Linked DNA regions of Homo sapiens: regions 2 and 3 are each linked to region 1. Evidence: promoter capture Hi-C in human tissues and cell types (Jung and others, 2019). All regions are on one chromosome and are shown on one strand. The core of a region is centred on a gene start or on the middle of the fragment in contact, and the rest is flanking DNA. Distances in the headings are between cores, read along the strand shown. Region 1 holds the start of MPO (myeloperoxidase). Region 2 overlaps TSPOAP1 (TSPO associated protein 1). Region 3 overlaps LOC105371841 (a long non-coding RNA gene).

The links. The method cuts DNA at HindIII sites, captures the fragments that hold promoters and counts their contacts. A contact is called where the count stands out against the background at its distance.
Region 2: a fragment that was not itself captured here is called in contact with the fragment with the promoter of MPO in region 1 in 1 of the 25 tissues and cell types used here (adrenal gland).
Region 3: a fragment that was not itself captured here is called in contact with the fragment with the promoter of MPO in region 1 in 2 of the 25 tissues and cell types used here (bladder and pancreas).

What each region holds. Positions count from the first base shown.
Region 1 is chr17:58,279,422-58,283,118 of GRCh38, forward strand. MPO (myeloperoxidase) reads right to left here and starts at 1,514. Exons shown (of 12, transcript NM_000250.2): 1 at 1,184-1,514; 2 at 945-1,038; 3 at 418-593; 4 at 102-225; 5 at 1-5. The coding sequence starts at 1,337. RefSeq lists promoters at 1,504-2,098, 1,504-1,644, 2,037-2,438, 2,323-2,548, 2,594-2,794 and an enhancer at 2,447-2,464. The HindIII fragment of the contact is 18,673 bases long and covers 1-3,697 here.
Region 2 is chr17:58,321,026-58,324,304 of GRCh38, forward strand. TSPOAP1 (TSPO associated protein 1) reads right to left here. Exons shown (of 32, transcript NM_004758.4): 6 at 2,443-2,520; 7 at 2,273-2,356; 8 at 1,925-2,014; 9 at 1,629-1,751; 10 at 1,283-1,387. Among named protein-coding and RNA genes, the nearest start is that of TSPOAP1-AS1, 2.8 kb to the right of the region's middle. The HindIII fragment of the contact is 5,479 bases long and covers 1-3,279 here.
Region 3 is chr17:58,227,804-58,231,227 of GRCh38, forward strand. The region is part of intron 1 of LOC105371841 (a long non-coding RNA gene); the gene reads left to right. Among named protein-coding and RNA genes, the nearest start is that of LPO, 9.1 kb to the right of the region's middle. The HindIII fragment of the contact is 3,843 bases long and covers 1-3,424 here.

The DNA of each region.
Region 1 (3,697 bases), core at 264-2,763:
TGCGTCTGCAGGGGAGGACAGGGCGCTGACACCGGGAGGCTTGTGGCGTCCGGGACGCCTCTCTGAGCCCGGTTCCTGCAGCCACCCCCAGCCAGCCGCACCTGTTGTTGCACATCCCGGTGATGGTGCGGTATTTGTCCTGCTCCGGGCAAGTCACCCCCACGTCCTGGTAGGCGCAGCCGCTTGACTTGGACAACACATTCAGCTGGGCGGGCGTCAGCACATCTGCCGGGGGAAAGAACAATGGGGGAGCTGAGCCGCCTCACTTCCTATCCCAGGCAACCTGAGGCTGAGGAGCCCTGGAGACTCCTGAGACTCCCTGGAGGAAGAAGTTGAGGGGATCACTGAGAGACGGCTGGGGTCCCTAGGAGGAGTCACTAGTGGAGCAGGGACCTGGGGTGTGATGGGCAACAGTACCAGTGACATTGAATGGCCTTCGCCACAGGGACCGCAGCTTCCTCTCCAGCAGGTCTAGAGCCACGTGCAGGTAGTCAGCGGCCCTCACCGCCGTCCTGGTGGCTGCCACCGGCTGCTTGAAGTAGGATAGGAGTTCCATGGGGCTGGCTGAGCCGCTGCGAAGCCGCTGCTTGATGCTGCTTGGAGAAAGGAGGAGTGAGGGCCAGAGAAGGGATACAGACCCACCCAGCAGAGCCCCAGCCCAGGGGCAGACATGCAGGACCATGCAGGCAGGCCCACGGGTGGGAGGAAGGCTTCCTTTTATAAAAAGGATATGGACCTGGGTGTCCAGACAGAGGCAAGGCTTTGGGAAGGATGGCTTTTAAGCTGTTCTCCCATCCAGAAACACAGGGACAGACAGACAGAAAGGGAGTCCACATGGGTCCCCATAGTCCCCCTCTCCCACCTTCAAGCTCCCTGCTGCCTGCTGCTTCTCTGAAAGGCCTGGGACATCCTTGCCCAGAGCTGGGCAGTGCCTCGTGCCCCACCTTTCCCGCCGCTCCTTGTAGGCCTTGTCCACCAGCTGCTTGGCCTCCTCCATGGAGCTCAGCACCAACGAGGTGTCCACCTCCCCCAGGACAGCTGCCCAGAGCAGGGATCACAAAGTCAGGAATGGGCCCCAACCCCCTATCAGGCCCCAGAGCTAGGAAGGCCTGCTCTGAGAAAAGGGGTCTCTGGAACACAACCACCCCAACACACCATCTTCTCCCACCTTGGGAACTGTTACCTGGAGCAGCACCTTCAGAGGGCTGGGGCGTGGCCAGAATGGCCAGGAGCCCTGCTAGGGCCAGAAGCAGCTTCATCTCTGCAGTGAGACCCCCAGCCCAGCAAGGTCCTAAGTCCACCATGCATCTGAGAGAAGAGAAGAAGGGAACCCCCATCTCTCTTCTCCTGGGCTGCTCAATCCCCCTTTGTACCTCAGCCCCACCTCAGAGGGCCCTGTCTATGGATAAAGCCAGACCTCCTTGAGGGAGGGGCTCACTGCTCTCTTATCCCCTTGCCAGCTGCTGTCATCCAGCTTCCAAGGACCCCACCTCCACAGCTCACCTGATATTGTCAGCTCCTCTTAGCTCAATCTGCGCTTTTATGTCCTCTAAGCTGGGGGTGGGGTGAGGTAGAGGAAGGTCTGATCCTGGAGACTGAACTCTTTCTCCTCCCCCACTGGGGTTGGAAGGTACACACAGAGGGGCCCCTGAAATGGGGGGAAGGGGCAGGAAAGGAGGGGCCAGCATTGTCCCCAGCCTTTTTTTTTTTTTTTTTTGAGACGTTATCTTGCTCTGTTGCCCAGGCTGATGTGCAATGGTTCAAGCGATTCTTCTGCCTCAGCCTCCCGAGTAGCTGGGATTACAGGTGCCCGCCACCACGCCCTAGCCTCTAGCCACATCATCAATTATTTCCTTAGGCAAGAAGTAATTTTTGTATTTTTCCTTAGGCAAGAAGCTAATTTTTGTATTTTTAGTAGATACAGGGTTTCACCATGTTGGCCAGGCTGGTCTTGAACTCCTGACCTCAAGTGATCCACCCGCCTCAGCCTCCCAAAGTGCTGGGATTACAGGCATGAGCCACTGGCCCCAGCCTGTCCCCAGCCTTTGAATTTAGCACTACCAGCCCAAGATTTCTCAGCTCACCATTGTGTGCCTATACCAGTGCTTGTCCCCAGGGGATACACACAACTAACCCCTCTGAAATTCTGGTTACACTGGTTATCCAGGGTTCCTTTGAAAGGAACAAAAGTCAGGAACTGGTAGCCCAAGGAATTGCAGGGAATAGAGTGCCCCCAGGGAAGACAGGAGGATGAAAGGGAGACCTGGAGTAAAGATGACCCAATTGGCCTCAGGTGGCCATCCCCCACTCCAACAGTAACCTGCATCCAACAGCCACCCAATGGGCAGCCTCTGGTTCTTGGTGGGGCTAAGGGGACAGGAAATCTGGCTGGAGACCGTTGGGCTTCACAGGAAGGAGGACCCTGGGGACTGTGGGCGCAGGACCAAGATAACTTCCTCTATCCCTCCTCACTCCCCTTTCTTCTTGGCTTCTGGTAGAGGGCTGTCTCCAAACTCCTCCTCCCCACCACCATCTGCTCCTGGATTTCAGGAACCAGGAGAGAGCAGAACTGGTTGTGGTTAGTGATCAGTTAGGTGATGCAGCCCAGGGCCTCTCTGGGACAGGATCAGTGCAGTTGGGAGGACTTGGGTTAATGATTCAGAATAATTCTGAAACAGAAGAGGATATTTCTTGCTTGAGAAAGCCCAGCAAAAGGGCCACCAATCTCAGCAGGAAAAGTACTACGACTTTTGACTGAATCAGTCTACCTCTCTGGGCCCTGGTCAGGCTGAGCTCGTGCCAACCATGCCTCCCATGTCCCATTTAGGTTCCCCCTCCTACCTTCAGCCACCTTCCCGCCACCCACTCTTTTTTTTTTTTTTTTTTTTTGAGACAGGGTCTCTCACTGTTGGCGGAGCTGGAGTACAGTGGTGCAATCTCGGCTCACTGCAACCTCTGCCTCCTGGGTTCAAGCAATTCTCCTGCCTCAGCCTCCCAAGTAGCTGGGATTACAGGCGCCCGCCACCATGCCCGGCTAATATTTTGTATTTTTAGTAGAGATGGGGTTTCAACATGTTGGCCAGGCTGGTCTCAAACTCCTGACCTCCTCCTGATCCACCCACTGTTGGGATTACAGGCGTGAGCCACCGCGCCCGGCCCACTCTTGTCTTCTATGCCCAGACCACCTCTTGGCCAAGGGACAAGGGACAGCAACACCCAGAATATCTTCCCAGTGTGTCCAGGGATTCTGTCCCCTGCTGAGAAGGGGAACCAAGCTTTTGCCCTGCCAGTGACTTGCTGTGTGTGAAGTTGGTCGAGTGGCTCTTTGTGAATCAAGCTCTAGAATTTTAGAGGCTTTTGGAAATGATTTTTCAATCCTTTAAGTAATATAATTTTCACTGATGAAAAGTTTGAGAACACGAGTATGCAAAAATAAAAATAAATCAAAATTACTCATCATCAAGTGAGATTGTGGGTACTTTTTTCTTTCAAGGTTTATCATTGTCTTCACATAAATAAACAATAGGAAGGAAAATAATTGCCCATAATCCCACCACTCACCAATACCTCATTTAAGAATTTGATATCCTATATGTAAACATAATATATATTTTTAAATATTGATAAGAAGAACTTTAAATATTGTTTTACCATCTACTTTCGGTACTTAACAATTTTAGTCTGAGCATCTCCCTGT
Region 2 (3,279 bases), core at 6-2,505, 41 kb after region 1:
TGGTGGCTCCAAATATCTCCAAGACCAACTTACCCATAACCCCAGGCTCATGTATCCAAGTGCCTGTGGACAGCTCCCCTTGAATGTTTAACGCGCAGCTCAGACATGGCCCAAATGGAACTCAGCACTCGGGATGACCTACCTCTCAGATCTGCTGCCCCTTCATCCTTCACCTCACGGAGTATGAAGAGCCCCACCCTCCACCAAGGTTTATACAGCAAATGGCTGTCAGAGAAGGGATTCAACTGGAATCCCACGGGGATCCTTGTCAATTCTTTTTTTTTTTTTTTGAGATGGAGTCTCGCTCTGTCGCCCAGGCTGGAGTGCAATGGTACGATCTCAGCTCACTGCAAGCTCTGCCTCCCGGGTTCAAACAATTCTCCTGCCTCAGCCTCCTGAGTAGCTGGGACTACAGGGGCCCGCCACCATGTCAGGTTAATTTTTGTATTTTTGGTAGAGACGGGGATTCACCATATTGGCCAGGCTGGCCTCGAACTCCTGACCTCAACTGATCCACCCACCTTGGCCTCCCAAAGTGCTGGGATGACAGGCATGAGCCACCATGCCCGGCCAGAACCTTGTCAGTTCTATCTCTAAAACATAACTCAAACCCAGGCACTTGTCTCCCGTTCCACTGCATGCATCTCTGTCCAGACAGCCACCATCTCCCTCCCAGGCCACCGCCCAGGCCCTGCTCCACGCCTGCTCCCACAGTCCACCCTCCATAATACCAGCCATGTGATCCTGTAAAATTATGACTCAGATCATGTCACTCCCCCACTTAGGATCTTTCAGGAGCTTCTATCTACTCACAGAGCAAAATACCCAAACTCTTCCCATGGCCGTTAAGGCCCGACAGGATCGGGTTCTTGTCTACTCCCACCACGCTGCCCATCCCTTGCTGTATTCTAGCCACATTGGTCTCAGGCTTCTTCAGCTCTTCCCTGCCACAGAGCATGTGCATGTCTACACCTCCTGGCTGGCAAGGTCAATTGTCACCTCCTCAGGGAGGCCTTCCCTGATGACCTCTAAAGTGGCTCCTCACCCCATCCCAGTCACTTTGTCACATCACCCTGTTCTTCTCCACCACTGTGCTCATCAGTGTCTGAAATCAGCTCACTCCTGGATGCTAATTTGCTGACTGCTCAGGGACCTGGTCTTTGTTCCCCACAGTCTCCCCGACGCCTAGCACAGTGCCGGGCACACAGTAAATGCTTGTGGAATGAGTGAGTGGCAAAGCTGGTGTCCAGCAGCCTGCCAGCTTCCCTCACTGCCGCCCCACCTGCTGCAGTCTCCGGACCTCCTCCTGCTTCTCCCGTAGGCTGAGCCGAGCCTGTTCATGCTCCACCTCCAGCTGCTGCCGCCGCTGGGCCACCTCCCGCATGTGCTGAAACACAAGATCTGAGTCAAGGCCAGAGCCCCTACTTGGCCATTTCTAGAGAAGATCTAAGATGAGGAAGCCTCAAACACCATTTGCTCCAGATTCCTCTATTACAAAGGAAACTGAGCCTGGAGCAGCTCCAGGCCCAGGCCTCAGAGCTAGTGCCCCTCACTAAGAATATTCTGCTGTCCCACTTGCTCCCCATGCCAGGGCCCAGCACCCTCTCCCACCTGCACCATCTCCTCACCTTCAGCACTTGCTCCAGGCTCTCCAGCTTGCTCTGCAGGCCCTGGCTCTTGCGAAGGGCTGAGTCCCTCTCCTGTGTCACCCCCAGGAGCTGGCCCCTCAGCTCCGCATTCTCCCACTCCACCTGGCGAGGGGGCAGTGACAGGGAGTTGGGTGGGTGAGCCTTGACCCACCAGCACCCTCACAGGGGGAACAGTACCCTACCCCTGCTCAGGGGTGGAGGAGAAAGCCCCTTGGCTGGGGACCGGGGCAGTGGTGGGAGCACAGGTCTCCACAGCACCTGGGCGGAAGTGGTACCTGCTCCTTCTCTGTGGCTCTCCCACTGAGCCGGGAGTTCTCCTCCACCAGGCGGGCATTCTCATTCTGCGCTTGTCTCAGCTGCAGTTCCTGAGCGGGCAGAGGAGCTCTCAGGAGGGAGCCCAGCACCCACATTCCCCCTCTCCCCACACAGAGGACCCTGCCCTCCTCCCAGGCAAGGCCTTCCTCCCCTGCTGGAACCTGCACCAGCCAGGAAAGGAAAGGAGCAGGAGGGAAAATGTGTTCTTGAGGGCAGCAGGGGTGGGAGCAGAGCTGAGAGGGAGCCCACCACCTGGCTGGCCGGGGTGAAGGGAGGAGCTGGCCTCTGGGTTGCCCTCAAGAGCTCACCAGCTCCTCACATCGCCTCTGCTTTTTCCGGGCTTCCTGCTCCAGGCTCTCGCATTTCTTCCGCTTCTTGCTGAGCTCCGATTCCTGAGGGGTCAGAACCAAGTGCTCCTCATGAGGGAAGGTACATCTGCCCACAGCAGGCTGCCTCCAGCCCTTGACCTAGGACTTACCAGCTGCTGCACCCTCTGCTCTTTCTCTGGCTCCCCTAGAATCACGGGTAGGTTGTCCGCATCCTCCTGGGGCGTGGCCTGGAAATGCCCAGGGGCAAGGGGCTGGCACCTGAGAACAGGGCCCCAGGGCAGCCTGCCCCAGCCCAGCCTGCCCAGAGCAGGTTCCCACCCCATCATTCAGCCAGCAAGAGATCCCTGCCTAGCAAGAGCAAAGAGGGGTACTGTCTGCCCACCCACCTCCCATTGTCTCCAGCTGATGTGTAAGTACAAAGGCTGCACCCCTGTGTCCTGGAGCCATAAGTGCTTTGAGATCCTGGGACCCACGTGTGCCCTGGGAGATGGGTCCTTTATCCAGGCCAAAGCTTTCCCTTTTTAGCTTCCAGCAGCAGCCCTGCTCTGCACTCAATAACTGTCCTGGGTGTCCTTCAGCGACTGGCAGAGAACTAGGAGGCTGCCTGGGCCCCCGGGGATGTGGTGTTCCCCAAGATAGGGGTTCTGTATCATCCAAATCTGGGCTTGGCCTAGAGCAGCGCAAGTCCAGCCAGACCCTTCTCCTGGCTTCCCCCAAGCCCACCCTACCACACCTTCCGATTATCCGTGCAAACTTTGGGGGAGGACAGGTCTTGATGGGAGGGTGCATCTCCCTTCCAGGGCCAGCCAGGGAGACAAAATCTGAGCAAGAAGCCTCCCCCCACCCGGAGGTCTTGGTCACTATCAGATCACTGCCTGGTCTCTCCTCCCAGCCCTCTTCCCAGAAGGAGGAGGACCTACTTGCTGCCTACCTAGGATGATGGCGAGAAGCCAGACCCTTAAGTTCTGGGGGTCCTAAGCGGGTCC
Region 3 (3,424 bases), core at 450-2,949, 51 kb before region 1:
TAAGGGTGCCCAAAATCCCAAAGGCCCAGAGGGGTTGTTACAGTGCTCCTTTAGTTCCACTGTCCACGGATAGCGGTGTGTTAACAGTTCAGTTGGCCCCTTACCTCATCACGTGGGGAAGCTGCCCTCCACCAGTGAGGGCAAAGGGCCAGTGTGACAACCTTTCTGGGTAAAGTGTCCCAAGCTCTTGTCCAGGGTCCAAGAAAAATGAAGTCACATGGACAGCTGAAGGATGGCAAAGGTGGAGAATTTTAGTGAATGATAAAAATGGCTCAGTGGATAGGGGAATAGGAGAGGCAATGAGAAGGGCAGGTCATCTTCCCCAAAGTCAGGTTGTCTCTTCACAAAGTCAGGAGTCTCCTCTTCTACTGACTGAGCCTGGGGTCTTTATAGGCACAAGATGGGGAGTGCGTGCTGATTGGTCTGTGAGTATGCAAAAAAAGTTAAAGTGAAAACACCACTCAAAGGTGGGCATGACTGTGTAGAAAACCAATTAGGAAAAGCTAGATATATGTGAAATAGGTGAAGGATGGGGATCAATCAGAGGAAAGCACATCAAACAGGAGGACAAGTTCTCAATCCAGTCCAAGGATTTAACTTGTAGCTTGGCTTTCAGGATTTAAATTGTCTTCGACTTGGAGGTGGGTACCCAACCCTGTCTGTCTAGGCATTTGGCTGCCTCCTGTCACTATCATTATATGTGAATAATTAGAATAATTTATATTGTTAAATTAAACCTGTCTCCAAGCTCCCCCTCAGCAGAGCTGATGCGATGTTCAATGTTGTTATTGTGGCCCCTTCCACTTCCTGGACTCAGTGCAGAGTTCCTACGCCCCAGAAAGGGGCCTCCAATCCATGCTGGTCAGTGCTGGGGTGGTCATGCCCCAAGCTCCCAGCTGAGCAGGCTGCTCTCTGCTTACCGTGTCCATCTTCCTCCTGGTGACTAACTTGGCCTCCAAAGACCACAGCCTATAGAGTCCAGTCCCAGATATCCATGTGCCACCCTGTCAGAGGTCCATGCAGGAATTCTGCCCCGTGCAGGAATGCTGCAAGAGAGCTGAAATTCCCTGTTTCTTGGTCCTGCATCTCCAAGGTAACTAACCAATCCCTCCAACCCTATAGGCTTCAGCAACCTACCAGTTTCCTCTCCATTCTCCCTCCTCCCTCCCCCACCCCCCACCGTACCTCAATTGAGCTCCCTAGCCCTGTGAGCTATGTTTGTTTGTCACTTGTGTTTTTGTTTGTTGTTATTTGTTTGGTTAGTTTGGTCTATTGTTTATTTGCTTGTTTATTTTGTTTTTTCAAAACAAAGGCTTGTTAATCTTCCCAAAGACAAAGAAAATTCTGCCCTCCAGGACACAAAGCTTTAATTGCTCTCTTGAGAGAGGGTGAAGGGAAAGGTATTTTTAGTCTTTGAACGGAAGAAAATTAAGATTTCAATCGCATTAACATCTCTGGAATCCTTTCCCAGCTCTCCACCTCCAGGACCACCAGGCACTACCTCTTTCCAGGATACCATTAGTTCCTACCTTCGTCATTGCAACAGGGTGCCTCCTGACCTTCCTCTCTGCAGTCCTACCCTCCACCTCTTCCCCACCCTAAAGCCAAGTGATCTTTCTACAGCAATAATCTAATGACCCTTAAAATATCTTTGCCAATTAAGGAACAGGCACATGTTCCAATTCAGGCCAGTGAGACGTAAGAAAAAGCTTGCCAGGATTTCTGGGAAAGCTATTCTTTCTCTTCTGTGAGATTCTCTGCCTTCCCCTGCAGGGGGTTGTGTGCCATTTTGCCTGCAAGGGAAGGATGGAGTTGAAGCTGAGAGGAGGTAAAGCCAGGAGAACTGCAGGGTGAAGGAAGCCAGGCCCATTGAAGTAATTCAACCCTGAAGTCAACCCTATCCCTGGATTCTTGTTAGAGGTTTTTTTTTTTTTCAAATGATCAAAAAATATGGAACAATTATTGGTTGCATAGCAATGTGAATACTTGACAAAACTGAACAGTACACTTAAACATGGTTAAGATGGTAAATTTTATATTATGTGTATTTTACCACAACTAAAAAAAATTACACCAACAACAGCAACACAAATATGGAACAAATCGTATAATCACCATCCATGTGCCCAGCATTCAATTTGAAATTTGCCTTGTTAGTTAAGCCAATTTGAGCTAGTTTGTTGGTGACCTGGGCCCAGCAAACGCATGCTAAGTAATACGGAATGTGTGCCTGGAAGTAGGCATGCTGCAATTAACAGGCTTATACTTGATGGAATTGGCTGAAGAGATAGGGCTTGCTCATGAGCTAGAAAGTTAGCAATCCTATTTAAGGGATTGTGAAATAGAACTGGTTTCTCTGCCTGTTGAAGTTTAATGTGCAAAAAAATCACCTGGGGATCTTGTTCAAATGAAGATCCTGATTTGGTGGGAACTGAGAGTCTGCGTTCCTAACAAGCTCCCAGGTGGTGCCACTGCTGCTGAGCCATGGACCACACTTTGGATAGGAAGGAGTTACACTGATGTGTCTGGGAATGGGGACCACATACTATGCAGGCTGTTGCATTAGGAGGATGGTGGGGAAAATTCAGGATATTGGATTGTGTTACCAACTTCTTACAGCCCTCAGTAAGGTTCTACAAGAGACAGGCCCTTAGTTTCACACTGGCCTATGTGAAAACAAGAAAATACATCTCTGTTAAGAGAGGTTCTCTCTTGGCGGGGCACGGTGGCTCATGCCAGCACTTCGGGAGGCCGAGGCAGGTGGATCACAAGGTCAGGAGTTCAAGACCAGCCTGTCCAAGATGGTGAAACCCCGTCTCTACTAAAAATACAAATATTAGCTGGACGCCGTGGCAGTGCCTGTAATCCCAGCTACTCGGGAGGCTGAGGCAGGGGAATTGCTTGAACCCGGGGGCGGAGGTTGCAGTGAGCCAAGGTTGAGCCACTGCACTCCAGCCTGGGTGACAGAGTGAGACTCCATCAAAAAAAAAAAAAAAAAAAAAAAAAAGAGGTTCTCTCTGCCTATGAACTGAAATTTAAAAATGGCTGAAATGTGATCACGTGACTATGTCATCTTGGTCAACTTTTTAGAGTCTGCCCATATTTGTAGAATGAATGCATGAATGAGTGAGTGAGCTTGCTATAAGAAAGAGCTAGATAATTAGAGCCTCCCAGCAATGAAGCAGGTTGCCATGTAAATACTGAGCTCCCCAACCCCGGAAGTGTTCAAGCAGTGACTTGATGACCATCTGTCAGCTTTAATGTAAATAAATATGACCTGGGGATTTTGTGAAAATGCAGATTCTGATTTGGTACATCTGGGTGGGGCCTGAGATTCTGTATTTCTGAGTAGCTCCCAGAAGATTCCAATGCTATAAGACTTTGGATCATACCTTGAGGAGCAAGGATGTAGTGGGGAATCCTA